Regions from separate parts of the Homo sapiens genome. Here all the other regions are linked to region 1. Evidence: promoter capture Hi-C in 16 types of primary human blood cells and fetal thymus (Javierre and others, 2016). All regions are on one chromosome and are shown on one strand. The core of a region is centred on a gene start or on the middle of the fragment in contact, and the rest is flanking DNA. Distances in the headings are between cores, read along the strand shown. Region 1 holds the start of LINC01116 (long intergenic non-protein coding RNA 1116). Region 2 has its middle 12 kb from the start of HAGLR. Region 3 holds the start of MTX2 (metaxin 2). Region 4 has its middle 35 kb from the start of MTX2.

Region 1 (4,847 bases), core at 908-3,407:
CTGAAATCCTTAAAAGCCAAAGTTTAGAAGAACACGTGCTATGGATACACCAACAGTAATTTCAAAATCACTCTGTTTATGAGTCCATTCCTCACCTCTTTTATCACTTTGACACACTCTTTAGGAAATAACAGAGAAAGAGAAATATGAAGCTGAAGACAGAAAATTTAATTATAAAACAAAGCCACCCACCTTGCTTTCAGGGTCAGGAGGTACAATGGCCTTCTTTTGCAGCAAGAATGAACTTAACACCCGTGTGTTAAATGATCACGTATCTATTTAAAAGAAAAGGAAATGTTTTTTAAAAGAAATGAAAGCTATATTCTCAGTCCTTCCTATAGCCAAGTCTTACCAAAAAATAAAAATAAAAGCAGTGTACTGTGGCTCTCTGGCACAAGGCAGAAAGCCGAGTCCTTAAGTCACTATTCCCCGGTTTCGCAAAACAAAATAAAACCAAAAAGCAACAGCAAAAGGTGTTTGGCAGGTGGGAAAGGGCCTTAAAACACCTTGTGCCCTCCTGGGTCCCTCCCAATGCCTTCAGTGTGGGCTGTGGAAACAACACCGCTCAACACCAAAGTCACCATCGGCAGTTTAAATGCCACAAAAGTACACTTAGAAATGAGAAGAAAGTGGGGCCGGGCGCGGTGACTGACATGGATATGTACAGCCAACCCCACTGCCACTAGAACAGTCTTAAATGCCCACACAAGGAGTATAAAAAGAAAAGCACATTTTGCAATAGAATAAATTCTTTTTTTTTTTTTTTTTTTTTTTTTTTATTGAGACCGCGGAAAGTCACATGACCCTGCATGTAGCCTTTTAGGAAAGCAACCGAAATGGTAAAGCCAGGAGCCGGGGCTGCCTGCTTCCTCCTGCAGCCTTTCAGCCCGTCCTGTCGCGCGTCCACATTCTTCTGGGCGCATCTGTGGAGCTATTAAGTGGGATAATCCCTCTGGCCTTTGATACATTTCTGGACATGATTATTTCATTACTCGCAGTATATCAGTAGGATCATAATAAAAAGGACTTCTGACAACCTGCCAAGAGTTTTGTGGCCTTGTAAACACAAAAGTGCTCTAATAAAATTTTATTAAGTGTTAAAAAGTCATAAAAAGTGAAATAACATAAACTACAAAATTTACTGTCCTCAGCAAATCCTGAAAATATCTTCCACAGTAAAATTAAATTAGCATGTAATAGACAGAGAAGCAGTGTGGAGTGGATTTAAAAGAGGATCCAGGGAAAATGACACTGTAACCCAATCAGGGTCACGGGGATTTAATTCGGATTTTCCCCCTTAAATGTGGATAAATGTGCTGATTACAGACGAGAGCTCCGGGGTTACTGGAGTCTCACACATTGTCAATACTTCGGAAGAAATAATATATTGCAGATTGTAACGAGCACGGGGAGCCAGCGAAAGGCAGGGCGTCCACTAGGGCGCGCTGAGAGACCGGGAATCCCCGCAAGGGCGCCCGCGCCGCCCGCCACCCGCCGCCGCGCGCACGCCGCGCCCTCGCCCACCTCCAAATAATATTTACAGTTAGGGTTTTTTTTTTTTTTTTTTTTTTTTTTTTTGCTCTCGCCCGTGACATTTTCTCCAAATCGGAAGAAAATCAAGTGTATGTCGAGCTTTGCCGCAGGCAGCCCTTGGTCTCCGCTTTCAGATTCGGGGTCCGGGAGCGGAGCGCCCTGCCCGCGGCGGTGCTAAACTCTGGGGCCAGGGTGTGGCCCTCAGCGAGCGCCCTGGGACTGGCCGCCCCGCCGAAGGATGCCGAGGATCGGGCAAGGCCGGCGTCCGGTCTGCGCGGGGCGCGGGTGCTCTCCGAAGGCCGCGAGCCACGGGCCTCGCTGCGGGTTCAAGTGCGTCCGGGTTTGGACGTCGCGGCTCCAGGAGTGTGCTCTCTCTCCTGCCCATCCCCTCCCCGGAGTTCAGCGCATCCGGGGCCCCGGGGACCCCTCTTCCCGGCCCTCCTGGCCGCGCTGGCCCGCCCGCATGGGGCCGAGGTTCCTGGCCGACGCGCGAGGGCGCGGGCGGGTACCGGGTTCCCGTTTTTCCCAGGCCCCGATCCCCGCCCACGCACGAGGCCCCCGGCCCACGCACGAGGCGCCCACGCCCATCGTGGAGGCTCCGCCTGGAAAAGAAGTCCGACTTCCTCTCCAAGCTGCTCCGAGGGGAATGGGGAATCGGCAGGAAATGACCCGAACTGCCAGCCTGCGCCTTTGCAGCCGGCCCTCGCTTTGCTGAAGACGAGCAGCTCCCACCAAAGTCTTGCCTCCCCTTACCCCGAAAGCCCCGCTCAGGTTTGTAAAGAGGGGTGCGAGATCTGAAAAGTATTTGTCTTCTAGGGAGAGAGATGTTGGTAAGGGGCCCAGAGAAAGACGGGTCCTTTTTAGCTCATCAACGCGCCACGTCTTGCTTTGCAGCTCCAAAATGATGCCAGCGCTGCTGTCCGAAGGGTCAATATTAATGCGTTAAGTGAAATGGGAAATAAATGGACAGTGGCACATTTCGTGGCATCATTTTTACAAGGGGATGTCGAAAGTTTTAAGCTGCATTTAAGAATTAGCCACATCTTGCCTGAAAGTTAATATTTTTTGATAAACTCGTTAATAAAGCCTAGAAGAGGTAAGTTAAAGTTAGTTACCACGTAGATCCTCCAGTCTCTTGTAGAGACTTGCGCAGGTTACTAGGATGAGGACGAGTTGTATTTTTAATTTTCTAGACTAAGTGCAAAGGCATTGAGTTTTGAGGTGGCAGGGTTAATGTTCAAGGGCAAATGGAACCGCCAAGGATCTCTTGAAAAGAATTCACTTACTATTAATACTTAAGCCTGAAATAATTATAATTAATTTACAGTGGGAATTATATGCCCATGTTTTAGACTTTTTTGTTATATTAGCTATATGAAAAGGGATGTTCTTTAGTGATTAAAAGAAAAAACCACCTGTTTATTGTCATTTGCAATTTGAAATAGCCGACAGCAGTAAGGCTAGCTACAAAAGCTAACAAGTCAACTTCAGTGTGGTTTGACATTTACTGTCAAAGCTTTGAGCTCTAAGAAAAACAGAATTTAAAATAATGTATATAAATAATAAAATTTCATTGTGACTCAATGTCCCTGCCCCTGGAGAAGGGACAGATGACACTCAGTGACTGGCTTGGAACCATTCCCCCTGCAGATGCATTTGCGGATACAGTGGGCCAGGGCTGCCTCTGAGTATGTACAGCAAGTGCTTATGGACTTACAGAAACAAATGTTTTACTATTTAGGATTTTCTCAATAGTTTACACTAAAAGTTTTGCATGTAGAAATGTGGGATAAATATTTCTTTGAAAGGAAAAGTTTCGAAAGGAAACTTTATACTTGTATTTTTTTGTGTGTTCACATTTCTAAGTTCATCTGTCTTTCAAAAAACAGATTTTCATAAATATTAAAATATTGCAAGTATTATTTTTAATTCTTTTGAGTGCCATGTTTGCTGTAAGTAGTTTTTTCTTTTAAGTAAGATTAATATAATCCTGTCTAAGGAGTTTAATAGAGAGAACAGGATTTCCAAGCCTATAAATGCAGTCTATATAAAATAGTGGGATCAAAGTTTTTTGTTAAGAAACTTGAGAATTTATACATTTTAAATGAAGATAGAAGCACGTTTTAAAAGTAGTTTTTCCACACCATTTCCCTCCCCCCAAAAGAATTCAGAAACTATATTCCATAGTCTAAAAATGGCATAATCAGATGTAAAAATTATTACCATAATATATAGTTTTCTCAAGATGGTGGATACTTTTTAATATATTATGAAGAGTTATATTCTCAGCCCACTGTGTGTTTGAGGGAATGGAAAAGACAAGATGTTTCTAAACATATTTTACTACTGAAATCCATAAGACTATTAAGCTGTGCAGGTAATTGTGTTCTAAGTGGTAGAAGTATTTTTCCAACTGCTTTTTAAACTTTGAAAAATTTATATGTATTTTAATTAGCACTTTTCTTTTAAAGGTTCCAAATATTTAGCTATATCAGCTATGTGATAAAAATTATTGGAATTTGTTCCCTACTACTTTCTGCATAAACAATTGAGAAATATTTTATACTAATCTTTTTATATACAGGGGATAAATTTGAACATGTGTCTTGTTGGTGTAATAAACAATCCAAATTCATTTCTTTCTTGAAAACTTGGCATCGATCTTCATCTTATTTTTTATGCACACAATTTGGACATGCCAGTTTGTAGGCAAGTTTTAAGACAGTGCAAGTTTTATGTGGAAGAATGTATATTAAGGAATGAATAGCTAATAGCCAAAATTAAATCAGGAGGTGTGGCATTCACTCCTTTGGATGATTATTTTAAAGATAGTTTTGCACTCAGGAAGGATTTTCTTATGCTCTGTATTTATGAATATCTAAATTATCCTGCCTTGCAACTTCAAAACTCAATAACCAAATACCAAATTTATGTATTTTCAGTGTGACTAAGGCTAGGAATATGAGAAGCAGATTGGTTTTATAAAAGAAAGCAAGCATTTACAATTGTATTTTAAAATATAATCCTAATTTCAGTTTCTGACAGAAATCTTGTGGTCAGCTCATCAGTTTTTCAGATCAGTTTCTAAATAGCATATAAAAACTACCTTTTCCACATCAGAAGTTCATATTTAGGTTTCCTTAACTGCAAAATCACTTTAAAAGAGAGTGTTTTATGTGAAGGGCCATTTCATGTGTTGGTTCCATCGATTACATATGAATGTATAAAAATCTTGTTTAAAGACCAGTAAAAGTGAGGAAATTCCAAGTCAGGCTGGCTAATTCCATTCATAATTCATCCCGAGTACCTGACTG
Region 2 (4,670 bases), core at 1,929-4,428, 440 kb after region 1:
GGAACCAAAAGAGATGGAGGGGGAAAAGAATGACTTCACTTCTCCATTGCCAGAGTCTGTGAAGCAGCTAGCAGCCAATTACCAGTGGAAGTTGTGGAGTTCCCTTCTCCAGAAATCTTATGATCGACATTGTAGCCCTATGTTTTCAATGCATTGCCAAATTTGTTAAAGCAACTGGATGCTTGCCAGCCTGCCGCTTCATTTTGTGCTGTGTGGACACAGTCCTAAGCATGTGAAGTGCCAATAAAGCACTTAATATTATTTTTGGACTTATCCAATCTTCCTTTCTACTGAGTTTGTAAGTTCCTTGAGGGTAGTGCATCACACTGTGTTCTGAGTGGCAAACATTGGACCCACTAAAGGTAGCTTAAAAAAGAAAAATGATTAACTTTAGTTATCTCTAGGAGGGCTAGGAAACTAGGTTCGGAGGGTACTCCACACGCAGGAGGCAACAGCAACACCTGGAATGTAATTCTGGCACAGGCGCCAGGGCAGGTATCACCATCACGGGCACGGGAATCAGCTGTTCCTTTTCCCACAGAAAAAGTGTCAGGTCGTTAGAGGGACAGAAAACGAATACTGGGCAAGCCAAAACAATGGCAGCTATGTAATAGATCCTCCAAAGGATTTAAATAATTTCAGCCAAATGAAGATACCTAATACCATTAGAAAAAGAATATATCTGACAGTCAGGTGCAGTGGCTTACACCTGTAATTCTAGCATTTGGGGAGTCTGAAGCAGGCGTATTGCTTGATTCCAAGAGTTGGAGACCAGCCTGGGCAACATGGCAAAACCCCATCTCTACAAAAAATTAGCTGGGTGTGGTGGTGCGCGCCTGTAGTCCCAGCTACTCAGGAAGGAGGCTGAGATGAGAGGATCACCTGCACCCTGGGAGGTTAAGACTGCAGTGAGCCAAGATCACGCCATTCCACTCCAGCCTGGGCGACAGAGTGAGACCCCATCTGGAAAAAAAAAAAATCTGTTTTAAGTCCTCTCAGGCATACCCCGAGTGATCAAGTTGCTAGTGAAATAAGCCAACTTCTAAATAAAACTAATGGAAGGACTAGCATTTTCTTAGTATGGTTACCTAACCCTTACTAACCTTCTTGAGGCTTAATTAGACTTGTGTTTGTATGTATGTTACACAGACCACTATCAAATTTTATAAATCTTGCTACAACAAAAATTAAAGAATATTTTAGTGTTGCTCCCTAGAAAACTGCAAAGCTTACTAAAAATATGCATCCTTTAAAAAGTGTGCCTATATCTTTATAAACTTGCTTTTAACATTTCTTTAATTTTGTATTATAAGTATAGAAAAATGATAGAATAGTTTTCCACATTTCTTGGATTCTCCATTTTACTTAAGCTAAAGGTATACTTTTCTTATTACTTTGCTAATCGTGAATTCCACTTTTATCAACACAATTCAGAACTTGTTTCCAACTGGTAGGATGAAAATTGAACATATGTGACACTCAAATGCTCAATTCCCTGTTGAAGAAATGAATGATAGACCTTATCTATCATTTATTTGACTCATGTGTACACCCATGTATATCACAGACATTTTTATTTAATTATTCAAGAATTGGCACATGAGAAGCATTATCTAATTCCTCTGGGACCTTCCACTGGCAAAAATAAATGCAATGACTGTGGCTACCAGATGAATTTTGCCCTTTTTCTTATATTTGAAAGTAATGACTTTATTATTTCTGAATTTAATTATTTAAATTTTAAGCAAAACAGAAAATCACTACAAAGAAAAAAATGTCAACAAAATCTTACTATGTAGAAGAAACCGACCCCTTCCCTCAGCTGCCGCCAAGCTGCTCGGTCCTTCCGAGGAAGCTAAGGCCGCGTTGGGGTAAGGCCCTCACTTCATCCTGCGACTAGCACCGCGTCCGGCAGCGCCTGCCCTACACTCGCCCGTGCCATGGCCTCCGTCTCCAAGCTCGCCTGCATCTACTCGGCCCTCATTCTGCACGACGATGAGGTGACAGTCACGGAGGATAAGATCAATGCCCTCATTAAAGCAGCCGGTGTAAATGTTGAACCTTTTTGGCCTGGCTTGTTTGCAAAGGCCCTGGCCAACGTCAACATTGGGAGCCTCATCTGCAATGTAGGGGCTGGTGGACCTGCTCCAGCAGCTGGTGCTGCACCAGCAGGACGTCCTGCCCCCTCCACTGCTGCTGCTCCAGCTGAGGAGAAGAAAGTGGAAGCAAAGAAAGAAGAATCCAAGGAGTCTGATGATGACATGGGCCTTGGTCTTTTTGACTAAACCTCTTTTATAACGTGTTCAATAAAAAGCTGAACTTAAAAAAAAAAAGAAGTAACCATCATTAATATTAGGTGAACATCTTTCTTGACAGCTCTATGTAGACACTCAGATATTAGGAGTGATCGGTGCATAAATAACTTGGTACATAGAAATAATTTTATAAAACTGGATACATATTATGCATGCTATTTTTAAATAAAAATATTAAATTTACATTTACTTAGACGTAATAAGAGAGAGAAACCAGATGAAACTAACAGATAACTGTTTCTTCTTCACTAAGAGAGCCCTCTAGAAGTATGGGAGAAAAATATTTACAAGTTTGGATTTTTTTAGCAATCCAAATGTGTTGTTGAACTTTATTAAAGTGTTCCTAAAATTAAAAATATAACAAATAAATCAGTTGGGCATGGTGGCACACACCTGTAGTCCCAGCTACTGGGGAGGCTGGGGCAGGAGGATGGCTTGAGCCCAGAAGCTAGAGGCTATAGTTAGTTATCTATAATTGTGCCTGTGAATAGCCACTGTACTCCAGCCTAGGCAACATAGTGAGACTCTGTCTCTAATTTAAAAAAAAAAAAGTAAATAAATAAATAAACAAGCAATTCTAATACTACATAATCTTAATTGAGAAAGCTTTAAGCTAAATCTATTCATCTTGAGTTCCAAATGATAATTATGTTTTATAACTAAAATTGGAAGGAGGCAGAAATAGAACATCTGAAACCTTTAGTCTTTATTTACATATGAATTGCAGCTAGCTTACCTTTGTCATTGTGACACATGTTGAATTAGGGACAGGTATAAAGCAATACCTTTATTCCTCTTAGTTCATTCAGAACAAAGTTCATTCATTTCATTGGTGTACTAAAATATCTAAGCTGCAATTGTTTGTGTTTACATGGAACCAATTGAGATAACATTGTCCTCTAAAATATGTAAATTTTTTAAAATCAAGGGCCAAGCCCCAAATTACAAACCTTTAATAAAAACAGGCCTTGAGAATTCTCAGATAGCTTCCCCATGTGACAATTCTGAAGCATACAAACACAGTTGTTTCTGAAGTTCCCAAAGGAACCATATGCTGCTAGAAAAATAGATTATTCTGGTTGTATGTGTGCTTTTATTTGCAGTCAAAACAGAAGCTTATTGGACTTTCTTGGCAGGTTAACCCAAGGAAGTTTAAATTTTAAATCTTTTTAAGATTTTTAGGGACAAATAGTATGCTATTTTTGTCTGAATAAGAAATATTGTTGTTTTAATTCATCATTTGGAGCTCATTTTATATATTCACATAGAATCTACCTTTTCTACAATTTTTTTTTTTTTTTTTGAGACGGAGTTTCACTCTTGTTGCCCAGGCTGGAGTGCAATGGCGTGAACTCAGCTCACCGCAACCTCCGCCTCCCAGATTCAAATGATTCTCCTGCCTCAGCCTCCTGAGTAGCTGGGATTACAGGCATGCATCACCACACCCGGCTAATTTTTGTATTTTTAGTAGAGATGGGGTTTCTCCATTTTGGTCAGGCTGGTCTTGAACTCCCAACCTCAGATGATCTGCCCGCCTCGGCCTCCCAAAGTGCTGGGATTACACACATGAGCCACGGTGCCCGACCTACAATTATTTCATAAGCGAGTAGTTTTTTTCCCCCTATATGAAGCTAACACACTTCACATATTCAAAATGTGACTCAAGTTTCAGATGTAAGAGGAGATGTAAACATTTACATATGATAGAGTAATTACTCATACAGGCAATTGAATACTAACACTATTTTGACAATTAGATCATAAGCAATCAGGAAAAATAATTTCTATTTATATAGAACTGTCCTTCAGCCATTAATTAGACCACAACGTGTCCTTTTTGCAGCAAGTTTTTATTTATTTTTTTCAGTTTAAGGGTAGGTTTTTATAGACCCACAATGGCAATAGAGTTTTTTTGTTTGTTTGGTTTTCGTTTTTTGTTTGTTTGTTTGCTTTTGAGACGGAGTCTCACTCTGTCGCCCAGGCTGGAGTGCAGTGGCGTGATCTCAGCTCACTGCAAGCTCCGCCTCCCGGGTTCACGCCCTTCTCCTGCCTCAGCCTCCCGAGTAGCTGGGTCTACAGGCGCCTGCCACCAAGCCCAGCTAATTTTTTGTATTTTTAGTAGAAACGGGGTTTCATCATGTTGGCCAGGATAGTCTCTATCTCTTGACCTCGTGATCCACCCGCCTCGGCCTCCCAAAGTGCTGGGATTACAGGCGTGAGCCACCGCGCCCGGCCGGAAATAGTTACAGTTTTATGCACAGTTGAGAAAATTCACAATTCCCCACTGCCAGAGTAGGTAGAGGGAAGAATTTTTCCTTTCTGCAGCAACAGGAGTTAATGTGGTTGATCACTCCT
Region 3 (4,513 bases), core at 143-2,642, 370 kb after region 1:
ACCAACTGACTATGGATACAATGGGGAACAAAACAAGTTTGATCCCTACTTTCAGGAAGCTTGCAATCTAGTAGGAGCTTCTCTCCTCTAAAAAATAATGTTTTTAAGTGAAGAAGGAAAAAAAAGAAATGTACGTTCACACAAACGCAAAGCAGTGAAAAACATTCCGGCAAATTTTATGACACATTCTGTACTTCCCATTTCCAAAATACTATCTTATTACTTCAAATGTACCTATTTATTGTGGTGACTGTCTTCATTACTGTACTCATGTTGAAAACACTGCTAGGGAGTTATGACTAATTCCATTAGCCTCTATCTCAAAGTACCTATGTTTAGTCTCCTCACTTTCTCAACAATATTTAATTTCTTTCATTACAATAAATAAAAACCTCAATAAGAGAAATTACAAACCTATATACATCAGTCATGTTCAGTCCACCGACTCAAAAGTATTTCTTTAAAGTACATGCAGATTTAAAAATTTTCCATGAATCCGCGCGGGCGTGGTGGCGGGCGCCTGTAATCCCAACTACTCGGGAGGCTAAGGCAGGAGAATCGCTTGAACCCGGGAAGCGGAGGTTGCAGTGAGCCCAGGTTGTGCCACTGCACTCCAGCCTCGGTGACAAAAGAGAAACTCCGTCTCAACAAATAAATAAATAAATAACTCCTAGAGTCTTAGCAAATGGCACTACTGTGTCGCTGGGAGACGAAGCAAGAAGTCTGGTGTTCCCTCAACAATAGGTAACAACTGATTAGTGACAGTCACCTTAAACTTTTTGAGTACCAAGACCCAGAAACTGCCACCACTCTTAGACTGAAGCGTTCAGATGCTTGCCCCTGTGGTAACGCCCCCCACCTCAATCCCAATCCAAGGCCTCCCCCTCATACTCCAGCACCTCCCAACTGAATGGGGAGGTGGGACAAAGTACCGCCCAAGGGAAGGAGACGGGACTCCTGCTCCTGCGGGGTGACCTTGGCCAAGTGTCTCCTTCTCAGTTTTCCCATATGTGAGATAAGGTTGGTAGTCCGTGCCCGCCTCCACCATCCGGGCCGGGTTCAGCGTATAATGCCGCAAGGCTGGAGGAAAGCTCCAGCCCTGTACCCCACGCGGCTCCCCGAGACCGCGCCGCCACCTTCTGGGTCTGCGGCCAGCCGCGCTACCTGCAATCTGGGAGACGAAGGCTTCCGCCACTAGAGACATGTCGGCTGGGAGGCCCGGCGCCCGGGTGCCTGCCCCCCACGGGCCTCAGCGTCCTCCACCGCAAACCCGGAGGCTCTCGGCAGTTAACGAGCCTAGCCCCGCCAACGTTCAGACTCGCAAAGCCCACTCCAACAGCAGCGGCGGCTGCAGTGAGGCCCCCAAGGTTACCGCCAGGCCTGGCTAGGGACTTCCGGCGCAGCCGACAACGGCACTCGAGCGCTTCCGCCGGCCCCGCCCCCGCGCCGTCCTACGGGGCGCCGGCGCGGCTAGCTCCGTCCAGCCAATTCCAGGCTCTGCGCTGGGGGCCCGCAGGTGGAAGCGAAGTACCCGACTCGTCTCCCACCCAGGGGACTGGCAGGGGAATCTGGGAGATTTTTAGCGTCCTTTCTGTAAGCCAGAATTTTGTAACCGAGTAACATTTGTAAACGCCCACTGGATACCAGGCACTTATATACCTATATCTACACACACATATATACATATATACACACACACATACACACATATATAATATATACACGTATATATGTACACATGTACATATATACACATATATACATATATATACACATATATTCTATTTGACTTCGTCTTCTCAACAACCCATTAAAGTAATAATATTATCGCCATTTTACGGATAAGAATATAGGCTTAAGGAGTTTAAACTGCCTGCCCAGGCAGTCCTCCAAGGACCAGATTCAAGGCTGCATGAATTCCCTCTATTCCATTATATTGCTGGGTTGATTAGTCCGTGGATAGACATTAGTGTTTTTTGTTGTTGTTGTTTATTCAAACATGCTTGGCAGAAAGGAGGCTTGAGCAGCGCCTAAGCCAGAAGGTAATTTGTCCTTCAACTCCATACACCCGAAATGATGCTCAGCTTGGAGAATAAGATACTTTAGTTTCACACACTTCTCACCTTTCGGGGGTGAACGGGGCAGGAAGAGGAGAAACTAAATTCCCTGAGTAACTTTGTCTTAACCTAATAGCTTCTTAAATTACACAATTAAAGAAAAATCATATGCATTACAGATTGGTGGTATTACAAGTGGGACAGGCTTCAGAGCTGGTAACCCAAAGCCCCCTTCACTGATGAGAAACAAGTTCAGAGAGGTGAGGTAACTCATTTTAAATCACACAGTAAATCAAAAAGTCAGACAGCTTACTAGGTTTTTGCAGAGGAAACCTGTATTCTAAGAATTACTGTCCATGACATTTAGAAAGCTATATTTCCATTCTTTATATCCGTAGATCTCTATTACTGTTCATTCTGCCTCCTTAACTAGCGTGGTTGGTTTCCTAGAGCTGCCAGATTACCACAAACTGGTTGGCTAAACAACAGAAATTCATTCTCACAATTCTGGAGGCTAGAAGTCTGAAATCAAGGTGTCAGCAGGGCCATGCTGTCTTGCAAGGCTCCAGAGAAGGGGGTTGCCGGCAATCTTCCATGTACTTTGGCTTGTAGATACATCACTCCAATCTCTGCCACCACATCACACGGCATTCCCCCTGTGTGTCAATGTGTTCAAATTTCTCTCTTCTTGAGAAATAACACCAGTCATTGTGTTAGGGACCCCCACCCTAATCCAGCAGGACCTCATCTTAACATGATTTCTTTTCTTTTCTTTTCTTTTTTTTTTTTTTTTTTTTTGAGATGGAGTCTTGCTCTGTCACCTAGGCTGGAGTGCAGTGGCGTGATCTCGGCCCACTGCAACCTCCACCTTCCAGGTTCAAGCGATTCTCCTGCCTTGGCCTCCCAAATAGCTGAGATTACAGGTGCGTGCCACCATGCCCGGCTAATTTTTGTATTTTTAGTAGAGACCGGGTTTCACCATGTTGGCCAGGCTGGTCTCGAACTCCTGACCTCATGATCCGCCCGCCTTGGCTTCACAAAGTGCTGGAATTACAGGCGTGAGCCACTGTGCCCAGCCCCATAATTTTTTTAAGGTTAAGTCATATTTTCATCTCCCTCAGCAAAAGGAAGCTTCTTAAACAGCATTTAAATTTACCCAATAATTTACATTGACATAAACACAGCAGCGTCTTAGGAAGTAGTGTCTTCTCTATAGCTGAAATTCAGAGTTGACAAGCAGCTGTGAATAGTAGAAATACAGGGAAGATAATATTAATAGGTTTTTCTTGTTTGTGCAGAGAGAGGTAACACTGATAGTAAAGAATACATGAGATCCAATTTCCTCCTCATCCCATAGGTATTATTGACCAAGAGAAATGAGCTGTTCCAGATACTTTGTTATCAATCAAAAGAAAAGCTTTCAGGCCCTGTCTGTTCTCCTCACAGTGGAGAATTATGTATAACTGTAATAATGAAGAAGACATATCATCACTTTAAGTTCTATTATTAATTTTGGTTTGTCATTTTTATAAAGCTGAAGACACAATATTTTGACTACTTTTTGACAGATTTGAAGTTTAAGATTTCTCCATATCATAGGGCCTGTGTGAGAACTTGAGCCAAAGTCCCTAGAGAGTAATGAAGATTCAACTGGGGAAACCAAAATCAAACATATCCAAAGGGTAGAAGTGAGCCCCAAAGTGGAAGAGACTGGAAAGAGCCAGAGACTGGACACAGATGCAAGAGAAACAGAGCAAGATTAGAGGCAAAGTAGAATGTGCCCTTAAAATTTAAGTTAAGTACCCATGGCTTGATGCATGATACATGCATGAACTGAGCTGGCTGGAAGGTACTGGTTTGGGACTGACACCAATCATCTTTATTATGGCAAGTGCCTTAGTCCATTAGGGCTGCTATAACAAAATATCTTAGTCTGGATAATTTATAAACAGAAATATACTGCCCTGACTTTCGGAGGTTGGAAAGTCCATGATCAAGGCACCAGCAGATTCAGTGTCTTGGGGGTCCCAGTTCTCACAGATAGCACCTTGTACATGTCCTCACATGGCAGAAGGGCAAAAGGGGCAAATAAACTCCCTTGGGCCTCTTTTATAAGGACACTAATCCCATACATAAGGGCAGAGCCCTCTTGACCTAATTACCTCCTAAATTCCCCACCTCTTCTTAATACTACCATAGTGGCAATTGAGTTTCAACATATGAGTTGTTGAGGGACACAAATATTCAAGCCATAGCAGCATGCTTTTTAGAAAAAAACAGAGATGTGCCGGGGGCATTGTCGATACTCAACTCTTTCTTCATTTTAGCCAGGGAAGCAGAATCATCAGCACCATATGGATTCACTTTTTCCCCCTGACTGATGGTTCTTTTGCTTCCCACACAGGCACATTTAGGCTGGAAAGAATCTGTAATGTGGGAGGTCTTTATTACTAAAA
Region 4 (4,446 bases), core at 987-3,486, 400 kb after region 1:
GGTTAATTTTATTGTAAATAATTATTAGTTAATATATAATACATCTTTGTTTTGCAGAAATACTTTTATATTCACAAAGAAGGCATACAGCTTAATCACAGCCCTTTTGTCATATGATTATCCATATCATTATAACATAGTTATTTATGTTTGTATTGATCATTTGAAAATATAACTGAATTTTTCACCCTAATATAAAAAAGATACATTAAAATGAAAACACATTAATGACTTACCATTGTTTCTTTCTTTAAACCCTTCAAATTGAAATTGTTTAATAGATTTTCCTTTGGGGCTATTATGTTGCTGTCTTACATCAACAAAGTAATACAAAATTTTAGGGTATGAAAAGAAAACAAGATTGGTATCTTGCTTATTCTTATATTATCAGCCTGAATTAAAAATTAAAATAAAAATGGTAGATATATGCAATAAATTTTCAAAATATATTAAAATTATGAGGGTATTTCTTTTATATTACCTTTCTGTATGTTTTAACGTTCATATTTAAAAAGTTGTAAGATTTGCAGCAGTAAAACAGAAACGATTCATTCTTTAAAAAATTTAACCACTAATTTTCCACAGAACTACATGATTAAAGATGGCTTTCAAATGAACATTGACTACAAGTGTTTTTTTTTTCTATTAATTTTTTTTTTTTTTACCACATTTCAAGATTCATCTGAGGCTTGAGTTATCCATTACCAAGTTGTTTTTTAATGCTTCCCCATTGGCATGTGCTTATTTTGTTTGTGTTCTTCCAGTGATTACTGATTCTTCAAATTACTGAAAAAGAGAAGAAGAAGAAAGGCAACTCTTACCTTGGTGACATGCAGAGCTGGTTTCAAGGGTGCATGATGTGCACAGTCACAGAGTCCCACGGTCAGAAGTGTCTCATGGTTGGTTTAATGCTCTGCGGTCACCATCTTGAAATTCATAATAATGTTATCTTAAACTTGTTTTGTAAGTGAAGCCCAAAGAAACATTTTGTGCACGAACAATATGCACAATATGTTTGTATGGTGTTCCTTGCCACCTCATTTGCATACAGCCTTCTGATGTTCCATGAGCAGAGAATTCCAGTGGACCCAGCATGGGAGATCAGCAAGACGGAAGCAAATAGATAAACATTTTATGGGAGCCACTGGCTTCCACAGAGTGTTGGTAGAACAGGCATGTATCAAAAAGTGGAATAAAAAACAGTTGTTAGGTTTTTTGCATCATTTCCAGTGTTCTGGTAAGAACAAAATACATATGCATGCACAAGCTACAAAATACAAATTATATTATATCAGTGGTTCTAAATACAGTTTTGCATTTAAAACTGGCATTCCATAATATAAAGATGAATGGTTTTTAAAAATTATGCCAATAATTTAAATTTTTAATTTTTCTTCACTTAGACCAGCATTAAATAACAAACAACACCATGACAAGTCAAGAGAAAGACTGTGGAAGCAAGAAAAAAGCTTTACCTTTAAGTATCTTTAATGGCACTTTTCCCCAGATTTCAAAACAAGGGCCCTGTGTTTTCATTTTGCACGGGGCCTCACAAATACTGTAACCAGTACTGGTTACACATTCTTTGTCTTCCCCCAGAATCCTCCTGCAGGAAGCATCTGTCTTCTATTCTAAAGTCATTAGTTCACCTTTGCAGCTGAGTTTGGGCTGGAGAAGGGACATCTTTATTTTGGCAAATGGCAGAAGAACTGGCAAACAGAAATAGCAAAAGGAATAGACATGTTTCCTGAACTCTAGTATGGTAAAATGCTTAAGCTCTTACAGATTAGGTTTTCTTTGCTTCATTGTGGTTTACAGCTATGGATTTTTCACACTGAAGGGCAGTTGTCAAATAAATATTTTTCCTTCATCACTTCTTTACACTCAAGACTTCTCAGTATCAGTACCATCTTATTATGAATTCATTTTATCTTAGAGCTACTAGAAATGATTTAAGACCAACAAAAAGCTGTGTTATTAATTTTTATTTTGTGCTTTTTGTCATTGTCTCTATGAACCATTTTCAGATTGTTTCAACAAATATTTTTGGAGAGCCAGCTTTATGAGGACCACTGTGCTAGACACTGAGGACACCCAGTGAAAAAGAGTCCCCACCTGCCAGGGGTTTAGGTCTAATCATCCTCCAGAGGGAATAAATGGGCCAAAATATGATGGTGAGGGCTGGTTTATGTGGAAAGTTCTTTGGGTTTTGTTTTTTTTCTTCACACAAAGTGAACTCTATTCTTTGCGGTACATAAATCACTCCCTAATAGTGAGGTAAGTCCATTAAGTTAACTTAGAGCACCACTGGTTATATTATTGCTGCAGGAAATGGCAAGTCAGGATTGCAACTGACTCATTTTAGAGGAAGAAATGCCCCTTTGAAAAAAACTATTGTCCTTTGGAGCTGAAATTTCTTTCTCTGATTTTTAAAGCCAAGTACAGAAAGGCTGTTTAGGAGAATGAGACTAAAATAAAACTCCCTAAGTCCCAAATCTGTGATTCAGAGTAACTCCACTGACAATGATCAAAATCATTCCTCAAGTCGTGGCAGGCTGCTGTTATCCTTCCAGAGTCCATTTATCCATAAGTCTCTGAGGCCCTTTGTTTTCAACATTCACTCGCTCTTCTTCATTCCTAACACCTACATTAAGAGTGATCAATTGTGATGTGCTTCTGACACCAGGTTCTTGAGAGTGGTGCTTTTAGCTTTATTAGAAAACTCTTCCTGAAAATGGTTTAATGTATATCTTAAATTATGTATTTAACGTGGAAAGACAAACTTTTTGAGACTTGATTTCATTAAATTCTCATGGATACTTTATTCCCAATAGTTCCCAGTTACATCATATTTATCTATTCCCCAACATTTATTCTTTCCTTCTTCCTTGCAATAATACTGATTTTTAGCTGAGCAACCTGGAATAAACCCCACCAGAACAAATTTAGTCACCTGGAATAAAGACATTTCCCAGCTAGGTATCACCACATGACTAAGCTTTATATAATATCCCTTCCTGTTAGCTGCAATGCACATGTAATCGCTGGAACTTTAGCAGCCACTTTGGACTATGAGATGGAACATCAAAGACAGGAAAACAAAAAGACAGAAGTTTGAATCCCTGATGATTTCAAAGACTGCCTACTTCTAGACTTTTTTTTTTTTTTTTTGAGGCAGTCTTGCTCTGTCACCCAAACTGGAGTGCAGTGGCACGATCTCAGCTTACTGCAACCTCTGTCTCCAGGGTTCAAGCAATTCTCCTGCCTCAGCCTCTTGAGTAGCTGGGACTACAAGCATGCGCCACCACACTTGGCTAATTTTGTATTTTTAGTAGAGACAACATGGGGTTTCACCATGTTGGCCAGGCTGGTCTCGAACTCCTGACCTCAGGTGATCTGACCACATGGGCCTCCCAAAGTGCTGGGATTATAGGCTTAGTCACGGCGCCCGGCTGACTTATAGACTTTTAGATGAAAGAAAAGTGCAACTCCATCTTGTTAAAGTCACTATATTACTTTTTGTGTCTCTGTTACTTGCAGCTAAACCTAATTCTAACTGATAATTTATTATAGATTCCTGGTTCATTCTGCCTAGATGAATGCAGTCTTTTTTTTTTTTTCTTTGAGACGGAGTCTTGCTCTGTCGCCCAGGCTGGAGTGCAGTGGGGCGATCTTGGCTCACTGCAAGCTCTGCCTCCCGAGTTCGCGCCATTCTCCTGCCTCAGCCTCCTGAGTAGCTGGGACTACAGGCGCCCGCCACCACGCCCGGCTAATTTTTTGTATTTTTAGTAGAGACGGAGTTTCACCATGTTAGCCAGGATGGTCTCGATCTCCTGACCTCGTGATCCGCCCATCTTGGCCTCCCAAAGAGCTGGGATTACAGGCGTGAGCCACTGCGCCCTGCTGGTGAATGCAGTCTTAATACTTATTCTTTTTTCTCTACCTTGAAATTTATTGCTCCTTTGGCTAGAGAATCCTTAAGGAATATTATGTTTTTCACAGTTCAGTTAATTCATCTTTGTTATAAAAATGACTTAAACAATATAAGAGCAACAAATATTAAAGTAATAGCTGTAAATAGCAGTTATTGGTTTTCTGTCAATGCATATTCTAATTCTGCTAAGACTTTGAGTTTGGCTTATCTAGAGCACTCAGCACTGAGCCCACCTCTGGATTGGTTTCTGGTCCTACCCATTTCACCAGCTTCCACAAATCAATGTTTAATTAGCAAAATAAATAAATTAATTAAATTGAATTAAGGAACAGAGCATCTGAGTACCACCTCAAACCTGTATCAAGTCTGATGGGAGGGAGCATCATGTCTCCTTCTAAGTGGAACATGGGAGAGCATGTCCTGAGATGACATTAAGGAATTGCTAGAATGGGGGAGCCAGGAGATGATGCTGAAGTTATAACCTGAAGACTACTGGTGTCCTTCCAATCCAA

What was found. The method cuts DNA at HindIII sites, captures the fragments that hold promoters and counts their contacts. A CHiCAGO score of 5 or more calls a contact.
Region 2: a fragment that was not itself captured here is called in contact with the fragment with the promoter of LINC01116 in region 1 in 1 of 17 cell types (fetal thymus); the score reaches 5.1 in fetal thymus.
Region 3: the fragment with the promoter of MTX2 here is called in contact with the fragment with the promoter of LINC01116 in region 1 in 1 of 17 cell types (endothelial precursors); the score reaches 5.0 in endothelial precursors.
Region 4: a fragment that was not itself captured here is called in contact with the fragment with the promoter of LINC01116 in region 1 in 1 of 17 cell types (endothelial precursors); the score reaches 6.8 in endothelial precursors.

Annotation. Positions count from the first base shown.
Region 1 is chr2:176,634,919-176,639,765 of GRCh38, reverse strand. It overlaps LINC01116 (long intergenic non-protein coding RNA 1116), which reads left to right and starts at 2,157. Exons shown (of 5, transcript NR_188023.1): 1 at 2,157-2,304. LINC01117 (long intergenic non-protein coding RNA 1117) reads right to left here and starts at 2,012. Exons shown (of 4, transcript NR_110599.1): 1 at 1,758-2,012; 2 at 193-275. RefSeq lists an enhancer at 823-1,337 and a silencer at 1,498-1,547. The HindIII fragment of the contact is 4,643 bases long and covers 1-3,051 here.
Region 2 is chr2:176,198,523-176,203,192 of GRCh38, reverse strand. It overlaps the pseudogene RPLP1P4. Among named protein-coding and RNA genes, the nearest start is that of HAGLR, 12 kb to the right of the region's middle. The HindIII fragment of the contact is 509 bases long and covers 2,924-3,432 here.
Region 3 is chr2:176,266,321-176,270,833 of GRCh38, reverse strand. It overlaps MTX2 (metaxin 2), which reads right to left and starts at 1,392. Exons shown (of 10, transcript NM_006554.5): 1 at 1,165-1,392. The coding sequence starts at 1,204. RefSeq lists enhancers at 498-1,123, 1,124-1,751 and a silencer at 1,456-1,545. The HindIII fragment of the contact is 3,129 bases long and covers 62-3,190 here.
Region 4 is chr2:176,232,302-176,236,747 of GRCh38, reverse strand. No RefSeq gene overlaps it. Among named protein-coding and RNA genes, the nearest start is that of MTX2, 35 kb to the left of the region's middle. The HindIII fragment of the contact is 1,529 bases long and covers 1,472-3,000 here.